5 separate regions of the Homo sapiens genome follow, and regions 1, 2, 3 and 5 are each linked to region 4. Evidence: promoter capture Hi-C in human tissues and cell types (Jung and others, 2019). All regions are on one chromosome and are shown on one strand. The core of a region is centred on a gene start or on the middle of the fragment in contact, and the rest is flanking DNA. Distances in the headings are between cores, read along the strand shown. Region 1 holds the start of PTPRS-AS1 (PTPRS antisense RNA 1). Region 2 overlaps PTPRS (protein tyrosine phosphatase receptor type S). Region 3 holds the start of PTPRS (protein tyrosine phosphatase receptor type S). Region 4 holds the start of SAFB2 (scaffold attachment factor B2). Region 5 overlaps KDM4B (lysine demethylase 4B).

Region 1 (3,445 bases), core at 571-3,070, 450 kb before region 4:
AGCACTTCATATAAATGGAATTGTGCAGAATGTCACCATTTGTGTCTGGCTTCTTTCCCTTGGTGCAATGCATTTCAGATTCACCCCAAAACAGCCATGTTTCTTTCTTTTTTTTTTTTTTTTTTGAGACGGAGTCTCACTCTGTTGCCCAGGCTGGAGTGCAGTGGTGCAATCTCGGCTCACTGCAGGCTCTGCCTCCTGGGTTCACACCATTCTCCTGCCTCAGCCTCCTAAGTAGCTGGGACTACAGGCACCCACCACCACGCCCTGCTAATTTTTGTATTTTGGGTAGAGACGGGGTTTCACCTTGTTAGCCAGGATCGTCCCGATCTCTTGACCTTGTGATCCGCCCGCCTCGGCCTCCCAAAGTGCTGGGATTACCGGCATGAGCCACCACGCCCGGCCAACAACAGCCATGTTTCTAAAGTGCAGTCCTTTTTCATTGCTGTGTAGTATTCCATTGTATTGATGGGCCACAGTGTGTTTATACATTTACCAGTTGATGGACATTTGGCAATTGCAGTTGGAGCAACTGTGAACTCATTCATGCACACAGCTCTTTGTGGGTATCTTGTGATATTTTACCCTCCAATTTCACTCAGTCTCATGGAACTTTCTCCTACCAGGGACACCTATGGTAAGGTGATTTCCAGCATGGGAACTTTGCTAAAGAAAGGGGCAATTGGGCCGGGTGTGGTGGCTCACGCCTGTAATCCCAATACTTTGGGAGGCTGAGGCAGGCAGATCACGAGGTTAGGAGATCGAGACCATTCTAGCTAACACCATGAAACCCCATCTCCACTAAAAATACAAAAAATTAGCTGGGCGTGGTGGTGGTGGTGGTGCATGCCTGTAATCCTAGCTACTCAGGAGGCTGAGGCAGGAGAATCGCTTGAACCTGGGAGGCAGACATTGCAGTGAGCTGAGATTGCACAATTGCCCTCCAGCCTGGGCGACAGAGCAAGACTCTGTCTCAAAAAAAGAAAGAAAGTGGCAATCGGCCAGATGTGGTGGCTCACTCTTGTAATCCCAGCACTTTGGGAGGCTTGTAATCCCAGCACCTGGATCGCCTGAGTCCAGGAGTTTGAGACCAGCCTGGACAACATAATGAAACCCCATCTCTACCAAAAATACAAAACAAACAAACAAGAACAAAACAAAACAAAACAAAACAAAAACAGCCGGGCGTGGTGGCTCAGCACTTTGGGAGGCCGAGGCGGGCGGATCACCCGAGGTCAGGATTTCAAGACCAGCCTGGCCAACATGGGGAAACCCCGTCTGTACTAAAAGTGCACAAATTAGTCAGGCGTTGTGACACATGCCTGTAATACCAGCTACTCAGGAGGCTGAAGCAGGAGAATTGCTTGAGCCTGGGAGGCAGAGGTTGCAGTGAGCTGAGATCAGGCCACTGCACTCCAGCCTAGGCAACAAGAGCCAGACTCTGTCTCAAAAAAAAGAAAAAAAAATTAGCTGGGTGTATGGCATGGGTCTGTAGTCTCAGCTACTTGTGCAGCTGAGGCGAGAGGATCTCTTTAGCTCAGGAAGTCGAGGCTGCAGTGAGCTGAGATTGCACCATGGCACTCCAGCCTGGGTGACAAAATGAGACCCTGAAAACAAAAAAGAAAAGAAATAGAGAGGAAAGAAAGAAAGAAAGAAAGGAAAGAAGAAAGAAAGAAAGAAAAAGAGAAAGAGAAAGAAAGAGAGAGAAAGAAAAGAAAAGAAAAGAGTGGCAGTGGCTGTCCTTGTACCTAATCATAGGACAGAGGGGAGACCAGACCCAGCATAGGTGAGGGAAGCCGTCAGGGTCATTAGTGGCAGCTGGTGTGTCTGAAACAGCCATGGTAGGGCAGCAGGATGACCCAGACAGGACCTTCGGTTTATCACAGGGGACAGGAGTGGAAATCAAGAGACCCTAGAGGGCCTGGGGATCACTTGAAAAGGGTCACAATGATAGCATCAGGTGGGGCTCATGGTCCAGCCCTGCCCCCCTGGAGAAGGAGCACAGGGCAGCCTCTGAGCCCCGGCCTCGGCATCAGTGCGGTTGACACCGGGGCCATCACCATCTGATAATAGGTTCTGTTTGGAACAGCTGCCTGGTGACAAGTATAATAAAACGTATTAACGAGGCCATTATTACTCCCTAATTAAAAGCTAATAACTAAGAGTTAATTGCCTTTAAAAGATGAAGCAAGGCTGGGCTGGGACTTATCTCTGTTTTCCTTTGCTTGCCTGGATAGGCTGATATTTGGGAACTAATTAATTGAGTCGAATCTTACAGGAAACTAATATCTCCTCTGCCATTGCGGCTGTTGGATTAAAAAGCGTTTGCTGTGTGTCTGGGCATTTCTGTGGAAAGGTCTCCTGTGTCCACTGTTCTTGCCGGGGCGGGGGTGGTGGTGGTGAGGCTTCAAGGTGCGGCTATGGGGGGCTGCTTGTCCTCTCCTTTCCTGCTGATTCTCCCGCAATGGTAGCCCAAGCATCCATGCAATTTGTGAGTCAGAATGCTCAGATGCTGTTCCAGGGAACAGACGGGCCGAGCTTATATCACAGATCTATCGTCGTCATCATCATCACCGTCATTAAAAAAAAAAATCAGGCTAGGCTCTGTGGCTCATGCCTGTAATCCCAGCATTTTGGGAGGCCAAGGCAGGTGGATCCCCTGAGGTCAAGAATTCCAGACCAACCTGGCCAACGTGGCAAAACCCCCTCTCTACTAAAAATACAAAACTTAGGCAGGCATGGTGGCAGGTGCCTGTAATCCCAGCTACTCAGGAGGATGAAGCTTAAGAATCTCTTGAACCTGGGAGGCGGAGGTGGCAGTGAGCTGAGATAAGATGGCACCACTGCACTCCGGCCTGGACGACAGAGCTAGACTCCACCTCAAAAAACAAAACAAAACAAGACAGTGCTCTAACTGCAAGCATACAATTCGATGGCTTTTGTACATATAAACACTTCAGTTACCAACACTTTAACAAAATAGAACAAGGGTTAGCAAACTCTGGTCCCTGGGCCACATTCAGTCCACTGCCTGATTTTGTATGGCCCATAGACTAAAAATGTTTCTACGTTAAAACAATTTTTAATAATATTCAAGCTTTTGCTCATTCTTTCATTTATGCAATTTTCTTTGAGATGGAGTCTTGCTCTGTTGCCCAGGCTGGAGTGCAGTGACATGATCATAGCTCACTGTGGCCTGGACCTCCAAGGCTCAAGCAATCCTCCCACCTCAGCTTCCTGAGCAGCTGGGACTACAGGCAACCCCGCCCTCTCCTCCTGCATTCAGCTTGGATGTTGCTTCCTCCAGGAAGCCTTCCATGCCTCCTGATGCCCATCTCTCTGGGTGCCCTAGGTGCTAAGGACGGCTGCGATTATGCCACTGCACTCCAGCCTGAGCAACAGAGTGAGACCTGGTCTCTAAAAGGAAGAGACATCTTTCTCCATG
Region 2 (3,616 bases), core at 539-3,038, 310 kb before region 4:
AAAAGGAACCCTGGGTGTAGAAGTGGAGGATGCTCACCAAGACCCCCTGGCCCTACAGCCTGCCTGGCACTAGGCCCTGGGCTCAGAGTGTGTGGAGGTGGGAGGTGAGTGCCAAGTGGGAACTGAGGGGAGCCTGGAAACCACCAAAAACTGGAGCTGGCAGCTCCGGGGGTGGAGAGAGAAGGGAGGAAGGGGGGGTTGGCTGGCTCTGGTGGTGAGCAGAGTGTGCAGGCCCCTTAGTGGGGTTGAGCCTGTGCCACGTGCTGTGTGGCCTTGGGCAAGTGCCTTAACCTCTCTGGGCTTCAGCCCCCTGGTCTGCAAATTAGACCTCCCTTCCTGTCCTAACCTCTAGCCCCATCCAGCCCCAAGTGTGTAGCCCACAGCCCCTCCCAGGGCCCTGTCTATGCAGGCCACTCTCTAAGTGCTTGACGCATATTAACTCGTTTTGTTGTGCCAGTTATTTATCTCAGATGGGGAAACTGAGGCTGAGGATAGGATGTGCCTTGTCCAGAGCCAATGGCTTGCTTGTAGCACCTGAAAACCCGCTATGGGCTAAGTCAGGAGCTGCCAACTCCATGTCTCCAGGGAGAACCAGCCCACCACTTCCTGGGAACCTCCGCAGGCGTCCTGCTAATGGGGGCGTTTCCATGCCTGCCTCTCTCACCATCTTCGCCACCTCAGCTCATCTTCTCCGTCTTTACCGATGTTCAGGACAGAGGCCTGGGAGTCGTTCTTGACTCATCTCAACCCTACCCTGCAGCCAACCACTTGGAGAAGCCAGCCAACCCTTCTGCAAAATCCTTCTAGAATACAACCCCTCCTCTGCCCCTGCCTGGTCCACCCCCATCATCCCTGGCCTGGATCTGTGCCGTCCCCTCTGCTCTGGTCCCCCAGCGTCTGCACTCATCCCCCACAGTCTGTCCTTTCTGCAACAGCCAGGGGTCGCCTGTGAACACGTCGGTCAGGGCTGGTTCCTCCTTTGCCCATAGCCCTCCCTGGCTCCCACCTCCCTCAGAGTAAACGCCCAAGTCCTCCTGGTGCCCCACAAGGGCCTGCACAACCTGCTCTGTCCTCTCCCTGCTCTCCCCTCCCCTCCTCCCCCTCCTCACTCTGCTCCAGCCACACAGGCCTCCTCGCTGTTCCTCCAACATGCCAGGTGCGGTCCTGCCTCAGGGCCTTTGCACGGGCTGTGCCCTCTGCCTGGAACACCCTCCCCTCAGATGTCAGCAAACATCATTCTCTTATTCCTGTTGGTCTTACTGAAATGTCACCTCTTCTGTGAGGCCTGTCTTGATTCTGTAGCTAAAACAGCCCCTCCCTGCCACCAACCAATTCCTCTAGCTTTTTTCTTTTCTTTTTTTTTTTTTTTTTGAGATGGAGTCTTACTCTATCACCCAGGCTGGACTGCAGTGGCGCAATCTCGGCTCACTACAACCTCCGCTTCCCCCGTTCAAGCAATTCTCCTGCCTCAGCCTACCGAGTAGCTGGGATTACAGGCGCCCACCACCATACCCAGCTAATTTTTGTATTTTTAGTAGAGACAGGGTTTCACCATGTTGGCCAGGCTGGTTTCAAACTCCTGACCTCAAGTGATCTGCCCACCTCGGCCTCCCAAAGTGCTAAAATTGCAGGCATGAGCCACTGCGCCTGGCCAACTTTATTTTTCTTAAAGGCATGGCATACAGTCAATCCTTAACACATATTTAATCTATTGGCTTTATGGCTTTTGTTTTTTGGGTGTTTCTTGTTTTTGTTTTTTGAGGCAGGGTCTCACTCTGTCACCCAGGCTGGAGTGCAGTGACGCAATCTCAGCTCACTGCAGCCTTGAACTCCTCAGCTCAAGTGATCCTCCCACCTCAGCCTCCTGAGTAGCTGGGACTATAGGCTTGTACCACCACACCCGGCTAATTTTTGTATTTTTATTTATTATTATTATTATGAAACCAAGTCTCACTTTGTCTCCAGACTGGCGTGCAGTGGCGTGATCTCACTGCAACCTCTGCCTCCCTGGTTCAAGCGATTCCCCTGCCTCAGCCTCCCGAGTAGCTGGGACTATAGGTGCATGCCACCACGCCCAGCTAATTTTTTTTATTTAAGTAGAGACGGGGTTTTACCCTGTTGGCCAGGATGGTCTCGATCTCCTGACCTCGTGATCCACCTGACTCGGCCTCCCGAAGTGCTGGGATTACAGGCATGAGCCACTGTGCCCAGCCTTTTGTATTTTTAGTAGAGATGAGATTTCACCATGTTGGCCAGGCTGGTCTCGAACTCCTGACCTCAGGCGATCTGCCCGTCTTGGCCTCCTAAAGTGCTGGGATTATAGGCTGAGCCACTGCGCCCGGCCCCTATTTGTTCATTGTCCTTCTGATGCATTCCACGAGGGAAGGGTTTTTCCCTCTGTCTTCTCCGTCACTCTGTTCCCAACACCTGACCCTGTGAGGATCAGGGCCTGGTATATAGGAGGTGCTCAATAAGTATCCAGTGATGGAGCTCTAGGCCCCCAGCAGGGTCCTGGGCCCAGAAAGGACACGACGGTTGTTTTCTGAACACACAGAAGCTTTCCTTGGGGTCTGAAGGAAAATTTTAGACCTGAAACCATCCCCTGGGTGGAGGCTGGGGGTGGGGATATAAGTATCTTGGGAGCAGCCAAGGAAAGAAAAAGAACATTCCTGTCTCATCAAAGCTGTTCAGGGGAGACCCGAGCTCCCTGGCTGGCGGCTGGGGTGGAGATGGCAGATGCTCTCTGCAGGGTAACTGGGCGAGAGGGAGTGAATATTGAAATGTGCATCCCTTGGGCCGGGTGCGGTGGCTCACGCCTGTAATCCCAGCACTTTGGGAGGCTGAGGTGGGTGGATCACGAGGTCAGGAGATCGAGACCATCCTGGCTAACATGGTGAAACCCCGTCTCTACTAAAAATACAAAAAATTAGCCGGGCGGGGTGGCAGGCACCTGTAGTCCCAGCTACTGGGGAGGCTGAGGCAGGAGAATGGCGTGAACCCGGGAGGCGGAGCTTGCAGTGAGCCGAGATCGTGCGCCACTGCATTCCAGCCTGGGAGACACAGCGAGACTCCGTCTCAAAAAAAAAAAAAAGAAAGAAATACGCATCCCACATGACATCTCCTGGTTGTGCGTGAGGCCTGTGTGTGAACGAGCCCTGCAACACATCTCATAGGAAAGCAAAAGAGAGAGACAAATGGGCATGTCCGTCAGGAGGGGCTGGGCATGTAGATGGCATACTACACAGCCCTGAAAAAGAATGCATAGTACGCAGCCCTGAAAAAGACATCCCTGGCTGTGTGCGTCCTGGTACTGTCAGTGAAAGAGCATGGCAGGGACAGCGGGCATAGGATGTGTGGGACGAGAAGGTGAGCACAATATGCCAATATTTGCAAATGCTATAATAATAGCAGCAGGGCCAGGCATGGTGGCTCACACCTGTACCCTAGTGCTTTGGGAGGTTGAGGCAGGAGGATTGCTTGAGCCCAGGAGTTCGAGACCAGCCTGGCCAACATAATGAGACCTTACCTCTACAAAAAAATACAAAAATTAGCCAGGCGTGGTGGCGCATGCCTGTAGTCCCAGCCACTTGAGAGGCCAAGGCAGGAGGACTGCTTG
Region 3 (3,756 bases), core at 350-2,849, 280 kb before region 4:
CAGCTGAGCCCAGAAGGGGGAGGCAAGGCACCCCCAATGAGGCTCTGGGAGGTTTGTTAATTTGGGGGAATGAGGTCCCAGGAGGTGGCTGGATTTGAGGAAGGGTTGCAGAGGAAGGGGCGTTCTTGGAAGCTGCATATTTAGGGAGACGAGAAGACGATTTGAGACTGGGGAAAGAGGGTCAACCGAAGAAGGAGGTCCCAGATTTGGGGCGGGGGGTGTGGCTGAAAAAAAGATTCCCAGTTTGTGGGAAAGGTTCCCTGATTTGAGGATTCTGGAGAGAAAGCGGCCGAAGGGGAGTTCCCCAATTTGGGAAGGGGGGGAATTGGTGGGAAATGTCCAGGATTTGTAGGGGGAGGTCCGAAGGGGAGGATCTTAATTTTAGGAGAGATTCCCATAAAGAGAGGTGAACTTGGCCGCAACCTGGCCGAACCCTCGCACCCACGGCGCGGGCACTCTAACCTGGGGGGCTCCCCTCAGGGCACGCCCCGCGCCCCCTTTAACCCAGTGCCGACGGCCCCGCCCCCGGTATGACGTCACCTCCCCTCCCCCCGCAGCCCCCGGGGGCTCCCGGGGCGTGCGGAACCCGCGGGGCTGGCGGTTCCAGGGGCGGCTTCCCCACTCTCGGGATCCCCACGGGGCCCCCAGCGCGGAGGGGAGACTGGGGTGCTGGGCGTGCGCGTCTGCCTGCCAGAGCCCCTGGGGCTGGGGGCTGAGGCTCGCCCCTGGGTGGGGAGGCTGGAAGGGGGCGCCGAGGCCGCAGAAGGGTGGGGCAATGCCCGAGTGCCGGAGGGGCGACCTCCCATAAGGCAACGACAGGGCCCGGAGTGTTCCAGGGGAGACGGCGTAGACTAGGGGGTCTCCAGGGGAGGGAGACCCGGAGAGGGAAGGCGGCGGGCGCAGCAGCCCTGGAGCCACCCCGCCTGGAGCCACCCGTCCCGGCTCCTCTCCGCTCCGGGGCGCCCGCATGCCCCCCATCCCCCGGCACAGCGCCCCCTGCCTCCAGGACCCGCCCGGGGACCCGGGCCGGGCGCCGCCGGGGCCGGCACCGGCTCCGCACACACGCGCGCCCCCCTCCGCGCCTCTGCCCCGCCCGCAGCCCGGGGTGGTGCAGCCGGCGGCGCTGGGCAGCTTCCAATGCCGCGCTCTGGGCGCTTCCAGCCCAGCCCCCTCCCACGCCGCGGACGAAGCCCCCCCAGCACCCCCTGCCGAGCGCCCCCAGCGCGGCCCCGGCCCTGTCCCTCGGGGCATTGTCCGGGCGCAGCTACCGGGGCGCAGCGGCTGGGCGTGCAACTGGCTGCAGCCGAGCATCCTCCGAGCACAATGGCCGTGCAGGCTTCCCCGGCACAAAGCCGGCGCGCTGCCCACTCGGCTGCCTCCGAGACCCCCCTTGGAGCGCCTGCATTTTTTTTTCCTCTAATCCATGATTTTATTTTTTTTTTTGGCTTTACCTGGAGGCTGGCTGGGCTGGGCTCCCCCGGCTCTGCCCCGCTTCACATCGTGGCTGTTGCATGGGATCCGAGCGGAGCCCGAGCGCCAGCGGCTCGCGGCGTGCGCGCGCCGGCCGGGCTGCCGGGCGGGCGGCGCGAGGACACTCACTGCGGCTCGCGCTCCCCTAGCTCCCGCTCGCGCGCCCCCCCAGCCGGTGACGTCATCCCTTCCGCCAGCGCCGCCGCCGCCGCCGCCGGGTCGGGGGCAGGGCCGGCCCGTGCGCGTCACTGCGCAGCCGCGCGGCCGCCACGCCCCCCGGCCAATGGGACGGCGCAGCGCGGTCACGTGGCTCCGGGGTGTTTAAAGGGCCGCGGGAGCACGTGGGGCGCGGGGCTTCGCGGGACACGTGGGCGGCTGGGGTGGTGGTGGTGGTGGCGGCTGCGGCGGCGGCGGGAAGGGCCCCTGGGGCTACTGTCCGTGCGGGAGCCCCAGCGTCCTGGGTGCAAAGGGCATGGCACTTTCTGTGCGCTGCCCTAAACTGTGCCACGGCTCCCCAGTACCCTTGGAATAAAATCCCGCCTCCTCTCTGCAGCTCGCCGTTTCACATTAGCGCCCACTACCCTGTCCCCTCCCCCCCACCATGTCAATGATCCAGAAAAACCAGCTGCTCCTTCTTTGCTTTTTCAGAGATGGGGTCTGCCACCTGGGCCTCAGTACAGTGGTATGATCATAGCTCACTGCAGCTTCAAACTCCTGGGCTCAGGTGATCCTCCCGCCTCAGCCTCCTGAGTAGTTGGGCTCGGGTGATCCTCCCGCCTCAGCCAGCTTCTTACAGTTCCTCTAACTTGAGCATCCAAGAACTTCCCCTTCTCATCTTTCCAATTTCTGCTCAAATAAGCAGCGCCTGGGAGAAGCCCTCCCTGACAACAGCTACCAGCCACGCCCCACTCCACTCTATCCCATTATCCCGGTTTGTTGTTGTTGTTGTTGTTTGTTTGGTTTTGAGTCGGAGTCTCACTCTGTCGCCCAGGCTGGAATGCAGTGGCGTGATCGCGGCTCACTGTAACCTCCGCCTCCTGGATTCAAGCTATTCTCCTGTCTCAGCCTCCGGAGTAGCTGGAATTACAGGCGTGCTGTCACCACGCCTGGCTAATTTTTGTATTTTTGTTAGAGACAGTGTTTCACCATGTTGGCCAGGCTGGTCTTGAACTCCTGACCTCAGTGATCCGTCCACCTCGGCCTCCCAAAGTGCTGGGATTACAGGCGTGAGCCACCGCGCCTGGTCCCATTATCCCGTTTTTATTCTAGTTACACTACAGTGTGGCTCCAGAGATCCCTATTGTAGGTTGAACACATGAATGAATGGATGATGGAGCACTTCTTATAGAGTAAGCACTTTACACAGGTCTCACCTAATTACCATCCCCTGCTTCCCTGGAGTCAGGACGAGCCACAGTTGGAACCCAGCTAAAACACTGATTTGCTGTGTGAGGCCCGGAGCCTCACTTTCCCCATCTGTAGAATGGATTTGCCTCTGGATCTCAGCTCTCATCTGTAAAATGGGGCAAGGTAGCCCCTGCTCCTAAGGAGGGTGTGATGATGAATTGCTATAATGTGGCAGCCTGGCTGCCATTGGTGCCTGAAGATGGAATAATAAGAGAAAAGAGGCCGGGCCCGGTGACTCATGCCTGTAATCCCAGCACTTTGGGAAGCCAAGGTGGGCAGATCACTTGTCAGGAGTTCGAGACCAGGCTGGCCGACATGGCGAAACCCCATCTCTACTAAAAATACAAAAATTAGCCGAGCGTGGTGGCAGGTGCCTGTAGTCTCAGCTAGTTGGGAGGCTGAGGCAGGAGAAACTCTTGAACCCGGGAGGCGGAGGTTGCAGTGAACCAATATCACACCACTGCACACTCTAGCCTGGGCGACAGAGTGAGACTCTCAAAAATAAGGAAAAAAAACAGAGCGGAAGTAAATAAAAGGGGGATATTGACAAAGGTAAGGGGGTTGGAGGGCTCACAGCCACCAAGCAAGATTGCACATCAGTCCTTGTGTTTTGATCATGTCGAAAGCATTTATTTCCTCAAGGCACATATTTGGAGAAGGCCTGGTGCCCAACAGAGGAACTCAACTTTAGAATTGGTTTTTTTTTTCCTCCAAAATTGTTGATTCATTCATTCCAGGCCACAGATGCAGATAAACAAAAAGCATTAACCCGGGGAACAAAACGATAAGGCGGAAGTCATAAACAGGAGAAAAGAGAGGAGATAATGAATAATTTAACAAGGAACCTAATTTAAGCTTGGAGTTTCCCAGCGGCCAGTG
Region 4 (3,720 bases), core at 678-3,177:
CCGTAATAGTAAAAAATAGGCTGAGTGCAAATACCCCAACAATCTACTTTGGACCCTAGCAAAGCTGAGTTCTATTCGGTCTCAGGTTGGTGTCCTTTTCTTTGGGTTAAGACCTATTTTTTGAACCAGGAAGGAAGCCAAGTAGGTACATTTGGTTCCTCAGACCCGTAGAAGTAGCTTTAAGAGCTTGTCTTTCTCTAGTTGACTTTTAATCCCAATGGCAGAAGCTGAAACGTTTTTCGTATATTTTAATTGCACTTGGCACCTGTACATCTCTTTCCTCCTCCCTGTGCCCTTGACAGAGCTACCTGTTAGGTGGTGACGAGCAAAGCTAACTCTTAGTGGAGGGACACCGAGTACCAGAGAAATTCTCCCAGCCTAGAAGGCGGGAAGAGCACACTACACACCATTTCTCTAAATTCTCTGAACACTCAAGCCCCAAGCAGCATATGTACAATACCTTTAACACATCTCTTGGCTGACTTCTTGCTGGTGGCTTCTAACTCGATGCCAATTTCATCAGGATCTTGCCCCTCTTCTTTAACCGCCTATTAGGGAGAGATGAGTTTTACAACATCATTAAGAGCTGCAGGGCACACACTGTTCCTTACAAGTAACAACCTCCCATGAAACAAAGGCAAACCCGTCCTTGCAAAGAGCAACTCCGGGTCAGCTATCTGGGCCGCAAGCCCAAAAGGCGGAGGAGGAACCCCGCACAACTTGGGTCTCTCTGGGTCCAAATGACAAAGGAGAGGGAGGCTGTGAGCAGGAGCTCCAGAATTGGGGTCAAGGACCAGTTCCAAAATGGCAACTCAACTCGACAATGCCAAACCTTCGACTTTAAAGTTATATGATGGGACAAATTAGAACAGAGAGGCTGCACTTGGCCCGGCCTCGGTGAAGGGCTGGCCACCGCTGGTGAGGAGGAACAGCAGCCAGCCTGGGGAGATTCAACAGGTCCCTCAGTGCCTGCCACCTGCCGGGTCCAGGACTGGGTACCCACAAGCTCCCTCCCTATGCTCAAGTTGTTTGTTCCAGTTGCGGAAACAGACAATTCCCAACCCCTTAATATTTTGCATTTAGCCCCTGCTTTCAGCGAGGTGCGACACAAACGCAGGATGAGCTGGCAAGGAGGTGGGGCAGCGCATTAGGAAGGGCGCTCAGGAAGGTGATGTCTCAGGCAGACCCAAAATGACAACAAGGGGCCGGCCACGAGAAGATCTGGGGGACCCGGGTGGACAGCTTCGTAAAGGCCAAAGCCCTGGGGCAAGAACAAGCACCGCCCCCTTTCCTGTAAATGCTCTGGAGTCCGCCAGACACCCATTCTCCGGAGGAGGAAACTGAGGCACAGAGAGAAAGGCACCTGCCCAAGGTCACAGAGCCAAGGCTCGATCGGGAGCCCCAGGAGGGGTCCCGGGGCCACCCTGGTAGCGGAGAAGACCGCACGCTGAGCGCGCTTGAGGAGAAAAGGTGGAAAGAGGATAGGAAGGGAGGCACAGAGAGGAGCGGTGACGGGCCAAGGTCACACAGCCGGCCCCCTGGGTGCCCGACACCTCGAACCGGGGTCGGCCAAGACGCGGGGCGAACCCAGGGCGCCCCGGGTCCGGGAGCCGCGGTGACAGGTGCAGGCGGGGGCGTGCCCGGGCCTCCTGCGCCACCCCCGAGCCCCGCGCCGCCTCACCTTCTTGAGCCGCTCCATCAGGACGCTCTTGTTGCCGCCCGTGTCCAGGTTCCGCTTCTTCAGCTCCGCCCGCAGATCGATCACCCGCAGCTCGCTGAGCCGCCTCGTCCCAGTCTCCGCAACGCCCGGGCCGAGAGAAGCCGTGCCAGGGCCCGAGTCGCCCGACCCGGGCAGAGTCTCCGCCATCGTCGCGTTCCCGTCTTCGCCACCGACTCAGTCGCACACCGCCGGCAGCTATAGCGGCTCTGAACACAAAATGGCGCCGCCTAAGAGGAAAACGCACTCGTTTCCTCCCGCCCCGCTTTGCGGCCGCGCACGCGCACGCGCACCGCCCCCACTAGCGTACTTAGCAGCAAGGACGCTCGCGCGTCCACCAACCGCGGGTTCCCCGGCACAACGCGCAAGCGCTGAATCTGCAGCTCGCATGCGTCCCGGCAGTTCCCGGCGGGAGGCTGACGAGACGCAACGCGTCTGCGCACATCCCCGCGTTGTTCTCACTGCGCATGTGCAGTTGCAACCGGGATACTAGAACCTACGCTTGGTGCGCCTGCGCAGAAGCGAGGCGCGCTGGGGCGACTGGAGCGGTTCCCTCGCAGGCGGCGCCATTTTGTGCTAGGAGCCTGATAAAACCGGCCCGGTTCTGTGGAAAGTGGGCGGCGGAGCCAGGGTCCCTGGAATGGCGGAGACTCTGTCAGGCCTAGGTGATTCTGGAGCGGCGGGCGCGGCGGCTCTGAGCTCCGCCTCGTCAGAGACCGGGACGCGGCGCCTCAGCGACCTGCGAGTGATCGATCTGCGGGCGGAGCTGAGGAAACGGAATGTGGACTCGAGCGGCAACAAGAGCGTTTTGATGGAGCGGCTGAAGAAGGTGGATTTGGGGCCCCGAGGGCGGGCACAGGGTGGGTCTGGGGTCCTCTTGGCCGCGACGGTGGCTCGCGGGCCCTGGCGTCCGCCCCCGGCCGCGTTCGCGGCCTCGCCGGACCTGGCGCTCTCGCGTCCCCCGGCTCCTCCGAGGCCCCGGAGAGAGTTCCTTGGCCGGCTGGGCCTGGGTTCAAATCCTAACGCCGCAATGGGGCCAGGAGAACCACAAAAACGGCACGCGTGCAGGAGAAACGGTGACGGGTGACATCGTCCACTGAGAGGAGGGTTCTCCCCTCGTCTCGTCCCCTCCTCCGTACCTGGAGGGGAGACCCTGAAACCCTCACTTCCCAGGCGAGGGGAAGGGACTCGGCCAAGGTCACACGGCCGAGGACGGGCAGCGTCGGGATTTGAACCCAGGCCCTGGGATTCCTGATTCGGCTGCTTGGTTTCCCCAGGGAAGATGCTTTGTGACCCACAGGGGACCGACCAGCCTGAATCGGGGCTGATTTACAAAGGAAACACCCGTAGGACATACTCAAAGGGAAAAATAGAAAAAAACCCACCACAATCCAGTTTTCACGGTTTGCCGGTACTCGCTCGGTGAAGTAACGTGGCAGGAAGGAAAAGTGGTGTTGACGGTAGTGATCAGAAATGTGAAATGAGGGGAGACCCCGGGTGGACTTTAAAACCAGCCTCAGAACTGCCCGGGAGGCGGGCAGAGCCTGGGCTCCCCCAGCTCCGTCAGTCTCTCTGGACTTGGGGACCCTGCCAGCTCTCGGTGGCCTGATCTTGGGCATAGGAGACCTTGAACCCCTTCTGAGTCCTCTTTTCTATTCTTTTTTTTTTTTTTTCTCCTGTAAGAAGCAAAAAAGCAATAGGACTTTGATTTGGGGATTAAATAAGTTTGCGTGGAGCAGGCTTGGCGTGCTGCCTGGCGCATGTAAACACTCGGTGTGTGGTTGCCATCACGATTCGCTTTTCCTCTCTGTGCCACCACGAGTCCTCATTTGCAGATCGGGGGCTCTAACGCCTCCCTTGGGGGATTCAAAGGGATCCCTAGGAAAAGCAGAGAGGCAAGTAAAGGTTAGCCACCTGCGGTTTCCTTATTCCTGTAGCTTTTTTTCTCTGCCTTTTTTCCACCTGGCTACTCTGGGACCTCTCCCCTGTAGTTGCTCCGCCTG
Region 5 (3,430 bases), core at 313-2,812, 490 kb before region 4:
GCTGGGCTGCCCATGATGGGCGGTTCAGGGCTGGGGAGCTTGTACCTCCCCATGGAAGATTCCTCCCAGGGCTGAGCACAGGCCTCTCCAGGACTTGGAGAGGTTGGAACAAAAGGCTCCCGCGAAGCTTTGAGTGGGAGGGGAGGAGATGGAATCTTCGATTTAACCCTCAGCCGAGAGCTGCTGTCTTGTGTGCAGAAGTCCTGCTAAGCCAGTTTTTCAACTTCTGCTTCGGCCTTTCATTGGGGATGCATGTAGAATCTGAAAATGGTCTGGATGGCGTCTTTCATCCTGCATGCAATTGGAGGGGTGGGGAGAGGAGGGTTCTAGAAGCGCGTGGGATCACAGGGCGGGAGCTCCCAGGAGTGGAGGAATCGGCACGGGGACAGAGGAATGACCAGGGGCCCCCGCGGGCTGGCTTGGGAAGGGGTCTTGCCTTCTACCCAGGTATCCTTCCAGAAGGCATCTCTGGGGCCTCCGTGGACTCCCCCACTCCCCACACCCCACTGTGACCCTTTGGTGAGACCGGAGCATTTGCCTGTGAGACCATCACGGCCCCAGAACCCCAGGCATTCTGGGGTTGTGAGTGACAGACGCAGCCAGTGGCTCTGTTCTCATCCCCAGGGCCTCGGGGCCGCTTAGGGCCTTCCCTGGGCTCCGCTGGCGGTACTGTCTGGTTTGGGTTTTCAGAGGAGTCTTGGCCTAAGGGCTTCCTGAGTCCACCATGGGAGACCTGGGCCTCCACCTCGGGGAGCCTGCCCTGCCCTGCCCTGCCCTCCTCTAGGTGAACCAGGGGCAGTGCCACAGCTGGGCTGATCCCAGGACCCCAGGCTCCCCTTTAGGTTGGGCTGAGGATTGGGCCACAGGAGTGGGCACCCCACTTCCTGGGGACAGCACCCCTGTGTCCACAGGAGATGCAGGGAGGGGACGTGGGGAGATTGGGGTGCGGCAGCTGGCAATGGAGGCCATTAGAGTTCAATGGGAACAGGCAACAGGTGGGAGAGAGACCGCCGCGGCTTCTCAGCAGCAGACCTGCCTTCCGGGAGAGTGTCCCCGTCACGCAGCTCTTCCTGGGGCGGGCTGCCTTGGCTTCCTAGCCCTGGTCACGGCCCCTCCTGACTCCCTGTCGCACTCCTCTGGCACCTCCCTTGAGTTCAGTGAGTCTGTGCCCACCTAAGACAGGAAGGACAGTGTCTCTGAGTCTCGGCTGGTCACTGCCGACGCCCCCACTCAGACTCAGACCCCAGGACGGGTGTAGGGCAGCCGGGGCAGGGCTGGGCACTGAGTTTGGCCAGTCCTTGGCCCAGAAGGCCCTGGGTGAGTGGACGGCTCTGGATGTCCAGGGAGAACCAGGTGTTGGGGGAGGGGCTCAGAGGAACCATGTTTGGGGGCTCTGGCCTCAGGTGGCAGTCAGCCGAGACAGACGTGTCCCCCTCCTGTTGATGGGATGGGACGCTGCAGTGTCAGCTTGATGGGCATTGTGGAGAATGGGGCAGCCAGGAGGCAGGTGGAGGGGGAGCTATGGGCCAGGGACCCTGTGGGCAGCCAGGGCTGTAGACCCGGGGCCATCCCCTGGGCAGTTGGGGTGATTCCTTGGACGAGTTTTTAGGGGGCTCAAGTGTCTCTCTCCCTCTCCCCTCTGTTCTTCTAGAGGCATCCCCTTTCTCCGGGGAGGAAGATGTGAGTGACCCGGACGCCTTGAGGCCGCTGCTGTCTCTGCAGTGGAAGAACAGGGCGGCCAGCTTCCAGGCCGAGAGGAAGTTCAACGCAGCGGCTGCGCGCACGGAGCCCTACTGCGCCATCTGCACGCTCTTCTACCCCTACTGCCAGGTGGGCAGGCGGGCCTCACGGGTCCCAGAGAACCCCAGGCAGGGGCGGTGGGAGAGGGCGAGGGACCGGGCACCCCACACGCCTCCCTCTCTCACGCAGGGCAGGGTGTTGGCCAGCACCCCGAGTTGTGAGGGCTTGTTCCTGACAGCCGTAGGCAGAGCCTGGTCTCTGGGTTTTATTGGAATGAAGCTTACTAACGTGCCCATGTGCAACATGAGCCATGGTGGATGGGGCAGAGGGAGGCTGCGGAGGCTCGGGGTCACTGCCCTCAGGGAGCGCCCGTGTCTGGTGGGCGCTGAGATGGGCCGGGTGGTGTGGGAGTGCAGTGAAGGCCCAGGTACACCACCTGGGTGGCCGGGCGGGGCTCCCGCAAACCCTGGCCTGTCTAGCTGAGCTGGGCACCTGGCTAAGGTCCTGTTTCTGGTGCTCTTTCCATGCTGGCCTCGCCTGTCCTCTGCACCCAGATGGGGAGCTGGCCTCTGCCCACGGCCATCCCAGGCATCAGCACCCAGCCCAGCCGTTTTCCTCGGATCTCTTAGATCCCCCCTTCTCTCTTCCCCTGGGCATGCAGCCTCCCCAGGACAGGACCTGGCCACATGCTTTGCACTCCCAGCTCCTAGCCCCATGCCAAGCATGTCCAGGCATCAGCAGAGCTGCCCTGGGTTGGGGACGTCACCCCCCAGGCCTGTGCGCCGGCCGGGTCTGGGTGGACAGAGCCAGGGAGAGTGCTGTGCCGAGGGTGGTGAGCCTGTCTTGGGGCTCTGCTGCTGGGAGCTGGATTTAGTGCTCTGGTTCCTGAGACAAACAAGACCTGACAGCCGACACCGTCTCCAGGCACTTGCTGTCCTTTGTGAGGCCAGAGAGGCTGCTGGGAGCCACAGGGCCTGGAATGCCACTTCAGACATGCGTCTTCCTAATTCCCCTTGCCAGGCAGAGTGTGGAGACTCGTTCATCACACACCACCCCCAGCATACCCCAGCGCCAGGGGCCACCCAGCACCAGGGGCCACACAGGCCAGCCTGAGCTCTGTGTCTGGATGCAACCCTCATGGGAAGGTCTTCGGCGGGTTGGGGACAGGGTCAGACAGTGTTTGGGGATCCTGACTTTCTGGAGGAGTGAGAAGAGGGGCCGAGGTGGCTCTGGCCATCTCCCCGACCTCCCCCTCCAGAGCCAGGGGGTGTCGAAGCCTGGGGCAGGTGCCCTGAGAGAGGTCCGCGCCGCCCGCCCGCCTGCCCCACACATGGCTCTGTCCCCTGAAGGTCGCCTCTCCCCTACAGGCCCTACAGACTGAGAAGGAGGCACCCATAGCCTCCCTCGGAGAGGGCTGCCCGGCCACATTACCCTCCAAAAGCCGTCAGAAGACCCGACCGCTCATCCCTGAGATGTGCTTCACCTCTGGCGGTGAGAACACGGAGCCGCTGCCTGCCAACTCCTACATCGGCGACGACGGGACCAGCCCCCTGATCGCCTGCGGCAAGTGCTGCCTGCAGGTCCATGCCAGTGAGTGCCACTGTGGGGCCCAGAGGAGCTGCGCCCTCCTTCAGGGTGTTGGTGGGGGTGCCGGTGGGGGCTCCATCCTCCCCTGCGGAGGGCCACACCG

Evidence for each region. The method cuts DNA at HindIII sites, captures the fragments that hold promoters and counts their contacts. A contact is called where the count stands out against the background at its distance.
Region 1: a fragment that was not itself captured here is called in contact with the fragment with the promoter of SAFB2 in region 4 in 1 of the 25 tissues and cell types used here (dorsolateral prefrontal cortex).
Region 2: a contact is called between a fragment that was not itself captured here and the fragment with the promoter of SAFB2 in region 4, in 3 of the 25 tissues and cell types used here (dorsolateral prefrontal cortex, liver and lymphoblastoid cells).
Region 3: a contact is called between the fragment with the promoter of PTPRS here and the fragment with the promoter of SAFB2 in region 4, in 3 of the 25 tissues and cell types used here (adrenal gland, dorsolateral prefrontal cortex and mesenchymal stem cells).
Region 5: a contact is called between a fragment that was not itself captured here and the fragment with the promoter of SAFB2 in region 4, in 1 of the 25 tissues and cell types used here (lymphoblastoid cells).

Annotation. Positions count from the first base shown.
Region 1 is chr19:5,175,738-5,179,182 of GRCh38, forward strand. It overlaps PTPRS-AS1 (PTPRS antisense RNA 1), which reads left to right and starts at 2,009. Exons shown (of 1, transcript NR_186338.1): 1 at 2,009-2,727. RefSeq lists enhancers at 1,031-1,120, 1,131-1,180. The HindIII fragment of the contact is 3,308 bases long and covers 167-3,445 here.
Region 2 is chr19:5,308,965-5,312,580 of GRCh38, forward strand. All of the region lies in intron 1 of PTPRS (protein tyrosine phosphatase receptor type S), which reads right to left. Among named protein-coding and RNA genes, the nearest start is that of PTPRS, 30 kb to the right of the region's middle. The HindIII fragment of the contact is 5,079 bases long and covers 1-3,616 here.
Region 3 is chr19:5,339,213-5,342,968 of GRCh38, forward strand. It overlaps PTPRS (protein tyrosine phosphatase receptor type S), which reads right to left and starts at 1,600. Exons shown (of 38, transcript NM_002850.4): 1 at 1,452-1,600. RefSeq lists a silencer at 1,528-1,807. The HindIII fragment of the contact is 6,208 bases long and covers 1-3,756 here.
Region 4 is chr19:5,620,849-5,624,568 of GRCh38, forward strand. It overlaps SAFB2 (scaffold attachment factor B2), which reads right to left and starts at 1,928. Exons shown (of 21, transcript NM_014649.3): 1 at 1,682-1,928; 2 at 461-548. The coding sequence starts at 1,867. It overlaps SAFB (scaffold attachment factor B), which reads left to right and starts at 2,235. Exons shown (of 21, transcript NM_001201338.2): 1 at 2,235-2,546. The coding sequence starts at 2,358. RefSeq lists silencers at 328-548, 1,553-1,672, 2,643-2,692 and enhancers at 467-1,199, 1,673-2,012, 1,933-2,665, 2,666-3,397. The HindIII fragment of the contact is 5,746 bases long and covers 1-3,720 here.
Region 5 is chr19:5,132,232-5,135,661 of GRCh38, forward strand. It overlaps KDM4B (lysine demethylase 4B), which reads left to right. Exons shown (of 23, transcript NM_015015.3): 14 at 1,652-1,830; 15 at 3,108-3,330. Among named protein-coding and RNA genes, the nearest start is that of PTPRS-AS1, 44 kb to the right of the region's middle. The HindIII fragment of the contact is 6,554 bases long and covers 1-3,430 here.